Regions from separate parts of the Homo sapiens genome. Here region 2 is linked to region 1. The links are contacts of gene promoters, found by promoter capture Hi-C in human tissues and cell types (Jung and others, 2019). All regions are on one chromosome and are shown on one strand. Each heading gives the region's core, a stretch centred on a gene start or on the middle of the fragment in contact. The rest is flanking DNA. Distances are from core to core; before and after follow the strand shown.

Region 1 (3,695 bases), core at 32-2,531:
ATTGCACTTCAGCCTGGGCGACAGAGCGAGACGAGTGAGGATCACTTAAGGTCGGGAGTTCGAGGCCAGCCTTGATATCATGGTGAGACCCCGCATCTATTTAAAAACAAAACAAAACAAAACAAAACAAAAGCTGTAATCCCAGCACTTTGGGAGGCAGGCCGAGGTGGGCAGATCACAAGGTCAGGAGTTCAAGACAAGCCTAGCCAACAAGGTGAAACTGTCTCTACTGAAGATTAGCTGGGTGTGGTGGTGGACGCCTGTAGTCTCAGCTACTCGGGAGGCTGAGGCAGGAGAATCGCTTGAACCCGGGAGGCGGAAGTTGCAGTGAGCCGAGATCGCGCCATTGCACTCCAGCCTGGGCGACAGGGCGAGACTCCGTCTCAAATAAAAAAATAAAAAAAATAAATAAAAAGGCCGGGCGCGTTGGCCCGCGCCTGCAGCCCCTGCTACTTGGGAGGCTGAGGCTGGAGCATCGCTTGATCCTGGGAGGTCGAGGCTGCAAAGAGTCGAGATCGCAACACTGCTCTCCAGCCTGGGCGACAGAGCGAGGTCCCATCTCTTAAAAAAAAGAACTGTGCTCAAGGACATCTGCCGTGTCTGGGGCGCAAAACCCCTCCTGGTCCCCTCTCTCAGGGCAGTCCGCGAGCCCAGCGGATCCCACTCGTCTTTGCAGCGCGGACAGGGAATCGGCTGAGTTGATCCCATGCCAACAAGCCCGAGTAGTCCGGGCAAGGCGCTCGGCGGGGCAGTCAACGCTCCCTCCGCCATGGGCTCCCCTCTTGGGAAAAGCTTTTCCAAACCGCCGGGCCCAGGGCCCAGAGCTCCCGCCGCGCCCTCGACGTGGCGTCGAGTCTGGCCCCTTCCCCCGCGGCGCACGGGCTTCACCCAGGAGGGACGCGCCTGGATCCACGCCTTCCTCACTGACTCCCCGGGCTCCAGGGCAGGGTGCAGGTCCACAGCCAGGGCTTCGCTGCGGCCCCTGAGACCCCAGTGCCTTTCCTGCGCTCTCGCGGCACTCGCAAAGTTGAGTCAGCCACGACGCCCACAGACAACCCCGAGGCGCCGCGCCCAGGGCGCAGCTCTCCGGGTGACGAGCGCCTCAAGGGGCGCGGGTTCGGGGCCCGCGACGGGGCGGGGCGCGTCTCCAGGGCTCCAGTGCTCGGCCTCAGGCGGGGCTAGAAGGGCCGCGGGACGGGGTGGGAGTGGAGGGGCGGGGAAGGGCGGGGACAGGGGCGGGGCCGCACGTCCTCTCGGGCCAGCCTCAGCCGCCGCGCCTCAGTCCGCCGTCCGCCCTCCGCGCCCGCGCCGCTAGCATGACCGACGCGCTGTTGCCCGCGGCCCCCCAGCCGCTGGAGAAGGAGAACGACGGCTACTTTCGGAAGGTGGGCGGCTTCGGGCGGGCGGGCGGGGACCTGCGGGCTCCAGACCTCCTTTCCCCCGGGCCCTGCAGGGGCCGTGGGAGCGCGCAGTCGGGGTCCACTAGGCCGGGAGGGGGAGGGGGCGCACTGGGCCGGCGCTGGCCGGACGGAGGCTGGCGGGGAGGAGTGGGGGCGGCGATGTCCCCGGCGTCCCGGGCAGGTGGCATCCGGGACTGGGCGGGGAGTAGGGGAGGCGCATGTGGCCGCTCCGCGCAGGTGCGGGCGGAGGACCTGGAGGGGTGCTTGGGTCTCCCCCCTCCCACCCCCCGCCACCCCTCGCTTGCGATCCCTGGTGCCTGGGGAAAGGACCCGTTCCTGGCTGCGCTGGCGCCCTTGGCCTCTGGGCGCGTTGCAAGAGCGCTTGGTGGGAGCGCGGGTGGAGACAGACCATCCCAGGCGTGTTGGCGGTCTCATATTTATTTTAGGCGCTCTGTCGCCCAGGCTGGAGTAGAGTGGCGCGATTATAGCTCACTGCAGCCTCGACTTCCTGGCCTCCAGCGATCCTCCCGCCCCAGCCTCCCGAGTAACTGGGACTGCAGGCGCGCCACCTCGCCACGCTAATTTTTTGTAGAACTGGGGTATCGCTGTGTTGCCCAGACTGGTCGCGAACTCTTGGGCTCAAGGGATCCTCCCGCCCCGGTCTCTCAAAGTGCTGGGATTACAGGCGTGAGCCACTGCGCCCGGCCGGCGGTCTCTTTTTGCCTCCAAAATGCTTCCAAAGTCCGCCTGTGGGACTTTTCAGGGAGCAGGGGAGAGCTGCTGGTGGGAGGGAGCCTCCGGCGTTGCACCCTCCTCCGCTCCGGGTCGTCCAGGAGGGCGTGAGCACCGCAGGTGAGGCCCACGGTCTTGTGCGTCTCACTGTGTGCCAAAGCGGATTTGTCTTGTTGTCCGGGAGACTTGGCGGGGGCTGGCGGCGGGCGGCGGGCGGCGGGCGGCGGGTGGCGGGTGCCGGCCTCGCAGGTTCTTGGCATGTCCAGGAGCTCTTGGGCCCAGAAGATAACAGTCAGGGAGCTCAGTCCCTCAAAAGCGACCCCAGCCTGTGGAGCAGGGGCCCTGGGATACCCGCAGGCGGCAGGGCCTGGGCTACAAAGATGCTTTGGAGCCGGGAGTCATGGTGATGCCTTCCAAGCCTTCCTCCCTCTAGGTCCTGAGCAAGTCTAAAAATAGCTTTTGGCCCTTGGCCAGGGATCACTGAGAGGGTGGAGAGATTGTTGTTGATTTTCGTTTTTATAATAGATACGACAGTGCATAATTATAAATAGGGAAGTGAAACTTTCCCATAAACGAATCAATTCTTAATTGTTCAAAGCCTTAGGATCCAGTTCTTAAATGGTCTTGGCATCTTCCTCCTTCTCCCAGGTGACACAGAGAGACTGTGGGCTTTGCTCACTGGTGAGGAGCCCTGGGCAGGACAGTGTGGGGCAGAGTGGGAAAACTTCTTTTTTGTGAAGTTGCTTTTAGCATTAAAAAAAAAAAAAGTAGTTTTGAGGTATATTTAAGTTTAAAGATGTCATCATGGAATTACAGGATTATAACTTCTAATTATGTGTGGCGTTTGGGACAGAGGATCACAGGCCATGGAATTGCAGGAGGAGGCCTGGCCTGGGAATTCCTATGTCTGTCCTCGGGCCCCGGGGCCTGACTGCCACTCCCACAAAATTGCTGTGTGGCCTCCCGCAAGTTGCTGCCTCTTTCTGGGACATTTCCTCCCCAGATTGTTCTCTGAGCAGGTGTAGCTCTGGAACTCCAGCAGCACCTGGGGGAAAATGGCAGCAAGAGAAGCACACCTGTGAGGGGTGGTCCCAAGCCTCCCAGAACACATTTTCCTGTGGGAGCCCTCCGTGTCTGTGAGCCCAGGGGAGGACTTCTTGCTCCGCACTGGGAAAGAGTGGATGGCAAGAGAGCTAGGAAAGGTGCACAGTTGGGTGTTTTTCATTTATTAATTATTATTATTATTATTATTATTATTATTATTATTATGAAACAGAGTCTCACTCTGTCGCTCAGGCTGGAGTGCAGTGGTGTGATTTCGGCTCACTGCAACCTCTGCCTCCGGGGTTCAAGCAGTTCTGCCTCAGCCTCCGAAGTAGCTGGGATTACAGGCGCCTGCCACCACACCTGGCTAATTTTTTGTATTTTTAGTAGAAACGGGGTTTCACCGTGTTGCCCAGGCTAGTCTTGAACTCCTGACCTTAAGTGATCCACCTGCCATGGCCTTCCAAAGTGCTGGGATTACAGGTGTAAGCCACTGCGCCCGGCTACAGGTGTTTTTTT
Region 2 (4,044 bases), core at 181-2,680, 1.4 Mb after region 1:
GCTCATCCTCCTTCTCTGCCTTGCCCCTCTCTTCTCCTCTCTTCCTCTGCCCACCTCCACCCCCACAGTTGCCTATTTCACTCTCTCTGCATACCTTCAGGCTTTCCCTGCTCAGGACTCTGCCCTTTCACTGGAAGTTGCTGCTTCCCCCATCCTATTTGCCTTTGAGCTCAGGTCTAACATCACCTTTTCCAGGGAGCCTCCCCTATCACCCTGCGCAAAGTCAGATCCAAGTCCTTTAATTTATCTCTGTCTATAATTGGATTTTCATTAGTACGGCAATTTGATAAATGGGTACCTCCCCAACTAGGCTGAGCATTTTTGTGGTGAGCATTTTTGGTTGAGTCAGTTCCTGGAGAATGGCAGGATTTTATCTGATTGTACAGCATTGGGGGAAGACCCAATGAGCCAGTGCATGTAAAAACAATTTGCAAACTGTAAGTGCTAACCGACATGCAGGACTATTAGTGGCCTGACTATGCTATGAACCCAGGTGCAGAGGAGAAGCGAGTTGCGGTCAGATCTTGACAGCTCATTGTCAGCCCCTCCCCGGGACCCTTTCCTTCCACTATCTCGTATCAGTGAAGTCTGTTGTCCAGGGATATTAGGAATTCAGTCTTCAAACTCGCTTACCACGTTTCCCCGTGCAAGCTATTTTTGGTTAATTTTTTCTGCTTTGATGTTTTGTTTTACTGGGTGAGTCTGGCAAGCCACTATTGTGTGCAATGTGCTATATAAGGTTTTATTGGATCGCATTGTTTACGTCTGTCTGTGACAGGTACTAGCAGTACTAACCACCCTGTGATTTTCCAGCAGTGAAAATAATAGAGGAATTTCCTCCAGGTAAAATAATTAGTGGTTTAGACAAAAAAAAAAAAAAAGAATATTAGTCTTTTTTTAAGCATAAGTTTCAGTTTCTGGGGTTACAAAGACAGATTACACAGAATTTTATCGGTTTAACTATGAATTCATGTTTTCCCAGTTGCTCCGTGACAGTTCCACAGTTCAGATTTTGCCGTAGGTTGTGGTGTCTGGACTCACTGGGTCAGCCGCACTGCTGATGAGCCATTGTGTGAGCCATTGTGGTTTTTTTTTTTTTCTTTTTAAAGCAAATCTTGGCACACTTGGTTTTGCCTGTTTCAACAACCCCTTCCCTATGCGTGTAGCCTCAGCCGTAATTTGCTGCCCTGATCCTAGAACTCTTCTTATCTTCTTGTGTCCCCTGCCTCTTCTGAGGCCCCAGTGGCTCTCCCCTTGGGGTGGGGACACACAACAGAGAATGGAAAAACTGAAAGAAGCTTTGGAAATTTTGCCTGATCTAAATCTGGCAAGATTTAGCAAAAGGAAAAAAAAAAGCCAGATTAAAATGGAATTTTAGATAAACAACCAATACTTTTTGTTATATGTGTGCCCCATGAAATATTTGGACATACTTTATACTTATAAAAAATTGTTCATTGCTTATCTGAAGTTCAAGTTCATCCTATATTTGAGGCAGCAACGCCAGCCCAGCCCTCTCATGTTTAAAGGTGGGAGCATGTCTCCTCTGATTGCAGGACGTTTCTACACCCCATCAAATTCATGTTGAGTCTAATTTTGTGAGTTTCTGCTTCATTTTTTCTCTCTATGCCCATCCAGCATGCTTTTATGGGAGACAATGGAAGCCTGGAAAGGGATTCCCTCTATCTGTGTTTCTAAATACCTGATTTGGGGAATGAAACAGTGCCCTATAATTTGAACTCTGGCTAAGATTCTAAGTACCGCTGTCTTCCTACCTGCTCCCTCCCCACTGTGGAGGCCCTCTGGACAAAGTGTTCCTGTTCACCTGCTGCTTATTGTCCAACAATGCCTTCCTTTGTTCTCCTTGCCCTCTCGCTAACGCCCTATCCTTCTATTCTTCCTTTTCTCCCTCCTTCAGACTTATCAATGCCATCCACGGTAATTTTGGAGACGGAAATAGCAATGCATTGTCTTTCTTCTATTCTTGGGGGATTTGGGCATATGCATGCTGGGGGCACAGAATAGGATGCACATTGTCCCTAGAGCAGGGCTTTCCAAGTGAACTCACCATGGTCAACAGTGCAAGGAGACCCACCTAGATACTCCTAGGTCATTGGTGGGTTTGATGGAAATCTCAGTTGAGGAATATTTCAGGAGGTGGAGAAGGGCAGATAGATGCCTTTTATACATACACACACACACACACACAACATACATATATACACACACCATATATACATATATATGCATATATACACACATATATACATATATACATATATGTGTGTGTATATACATATGTGTGTGTGTGTGTGTGTATATGTGTGTGTATATATATATATATATATATATATAGAGAGAGAGAGAGAGAGAGAGAGAGAGAGAGAGGCTTGTATAAAGCAAAATCACCCCAGCTCTGATTATGACCACGTTATTTCCTTATTGTAAATAGCTCAGGTCATTAAAGAAAAGACTCTTGTGATGGAGAAAACCTGGCAAAAAGCAACTAAGGTGATAAACCAATCCTTGGAAGGCCAGGTAGCCCTTCTTCTGAAAGACTGGCCAAGAGAGACCCCAAGGGTGCAATTAGAGAGAGATTTATGAAGTGACAGAGTGTGGGGACTTAGGGTTCTCTTTTCTGTGGGTCAAAAGGAGGAAGAAAAGGGAGAAAAAAATTTATATATATATAGAAAAAATTGGAGCCAAATGTTTTCACACCATTGCAATACGTATCTTGTGTTCTTTCCATGGAGCTCGGCGGCAGGTCAACAATAGGTGATGGCAAATTTTAATGGCTAAAAGATGGCCAGAGAGGTGGGATGCTGTCCCTGATGCCTAGCCCCTTCTGTTCAACAATGCATTGGCATTCCTAGGCACAGTAACAGAAAATCAAAATAGATTAGAGGCATAAGGGCAGGAAAGAGGCACTAAAATGATTTCCTGGGGAATGTTACCAAGGTGGGGATGGGTGCAGGCAGTCATGTGGGTCAGGACACAAAGGAGAGAGGATCAAACCTAGTGGGAGAGGTTAGGGTAGGCTCAGGAGATGGCAGGGTCTTCTCTGGCTACCTGTGGAGTGAGGAGCCAGGATCTTGGATCTATCTTTGTTGAGGCTTGTGAAGGGTCTTATTATTCTTATTTAGAGACAGGGCCTTTCTTTATCGCCCAGGCTGGAGTGCAGTGGCAAAATCATAGCTCATTGCAGGCTTGAATGCTTGGGCTTAAGTGATCTTATCTTCCCATCCCAGTTGCCTGAGTAGCTGGAACCACAGGCACATGCCACCACACCAGGCTAATTTTTAAATTATTGGTAGAGACAGGATCTTGCCATGTTTCCCAGGCTGGTTTTGAACTCCCTGCCTCGAGCGATCCCCTGCCTTGGCCCCCCCAAAGTGCTGGGATTACAGACATGAGCCACCACGCTTGGCCTCAAAGGGTCTTTTTTGTTTCACCAAATGCTCTTGGCTAAAAGACATTAGGCCAAGACTCGTGGAGTTCTGGGAGCTCATCCTCTGGCCTTCATGTGAGTCCGGGCTATCAGGCCTTGAGCTCCGGATACCAGGCTCAGCTCCCTGCTCTCCTCTGCAGAATACAGCAGGCATTCAGAGGATGTGTTTGCTTTCCACCAGTGTCATGCCATGCTGTTTGAATGAGTCCCAGAACTGATGAATTAACTCCCAGCTGGTGGTAGAGTGGGAGAAACTGAACCTCCTGCTACTGGCTCTTCCTTTAAACTCACATCTGCCCATCTCTTGGTTGAGAAATCCTGTCTCTCAGGCCTGCTTCTAGACCGGTTTGTTACTGTAGTGCCACCGGAGTTGAAAGACAAGATGTGGCCCAGGCTGTGTGTGTGTGTATATGAGTGCACACGCATGCGTACACTACTTACATACAGATGTGCATATCCATAGAATCATATATCTGCTCTGAGAGCATTCAGGGAGAGTGTTGCAGTGTGTGCTTGCCATGAATTTTTGATCTGGTGCTCCATGCCATTACCACGTAATAAATATTGGTGAATATCACTTTAACTTAGGGATCATT

Evidence for each region. The method cuts DNA at HindIII sites, captures the fragments that hold promoters and counts their contacts. A contact is called where the count stands out against the background at its distance.
Region 2: a contact is called between a fragment that was not itself captured here and the fragment with the promoter of RHPN2 in region 1, in 1 of the 25 tissues and cell types used here (psoas muscle).

What each region holds. Positions count from the first base shown.
Region 1 is chr19:33,062,474-33,066,168 of GRCh38, reverse strand. RHPN2 (rhophilin Rho GTPase binding protein 2) reads left to right here and starts at 1,281. Exons shown (of 15, transcript NM_033103.5): 1 at 1,281-1,385. The coding sequence starts at 1,317. RefSeq lists enhancers at 247-746, 1,959-2,587 and silencers at 894-1,393, 1,454-1,673. The HindIII fragment of the contact is 19,604 bases long and covers 1-3,695 here.
Region 2 is chr19:31,671,730-31,675,773 of GRCh38, reverse strand. No RefSeq gene overlaps it. Among named protein-coding and RNA genes, the nearest start is that of LINC03103, 86 kb to the right of the region's middle. The HindIII fragment of the contact is 4,885 bases long and covers 1-3,872 here.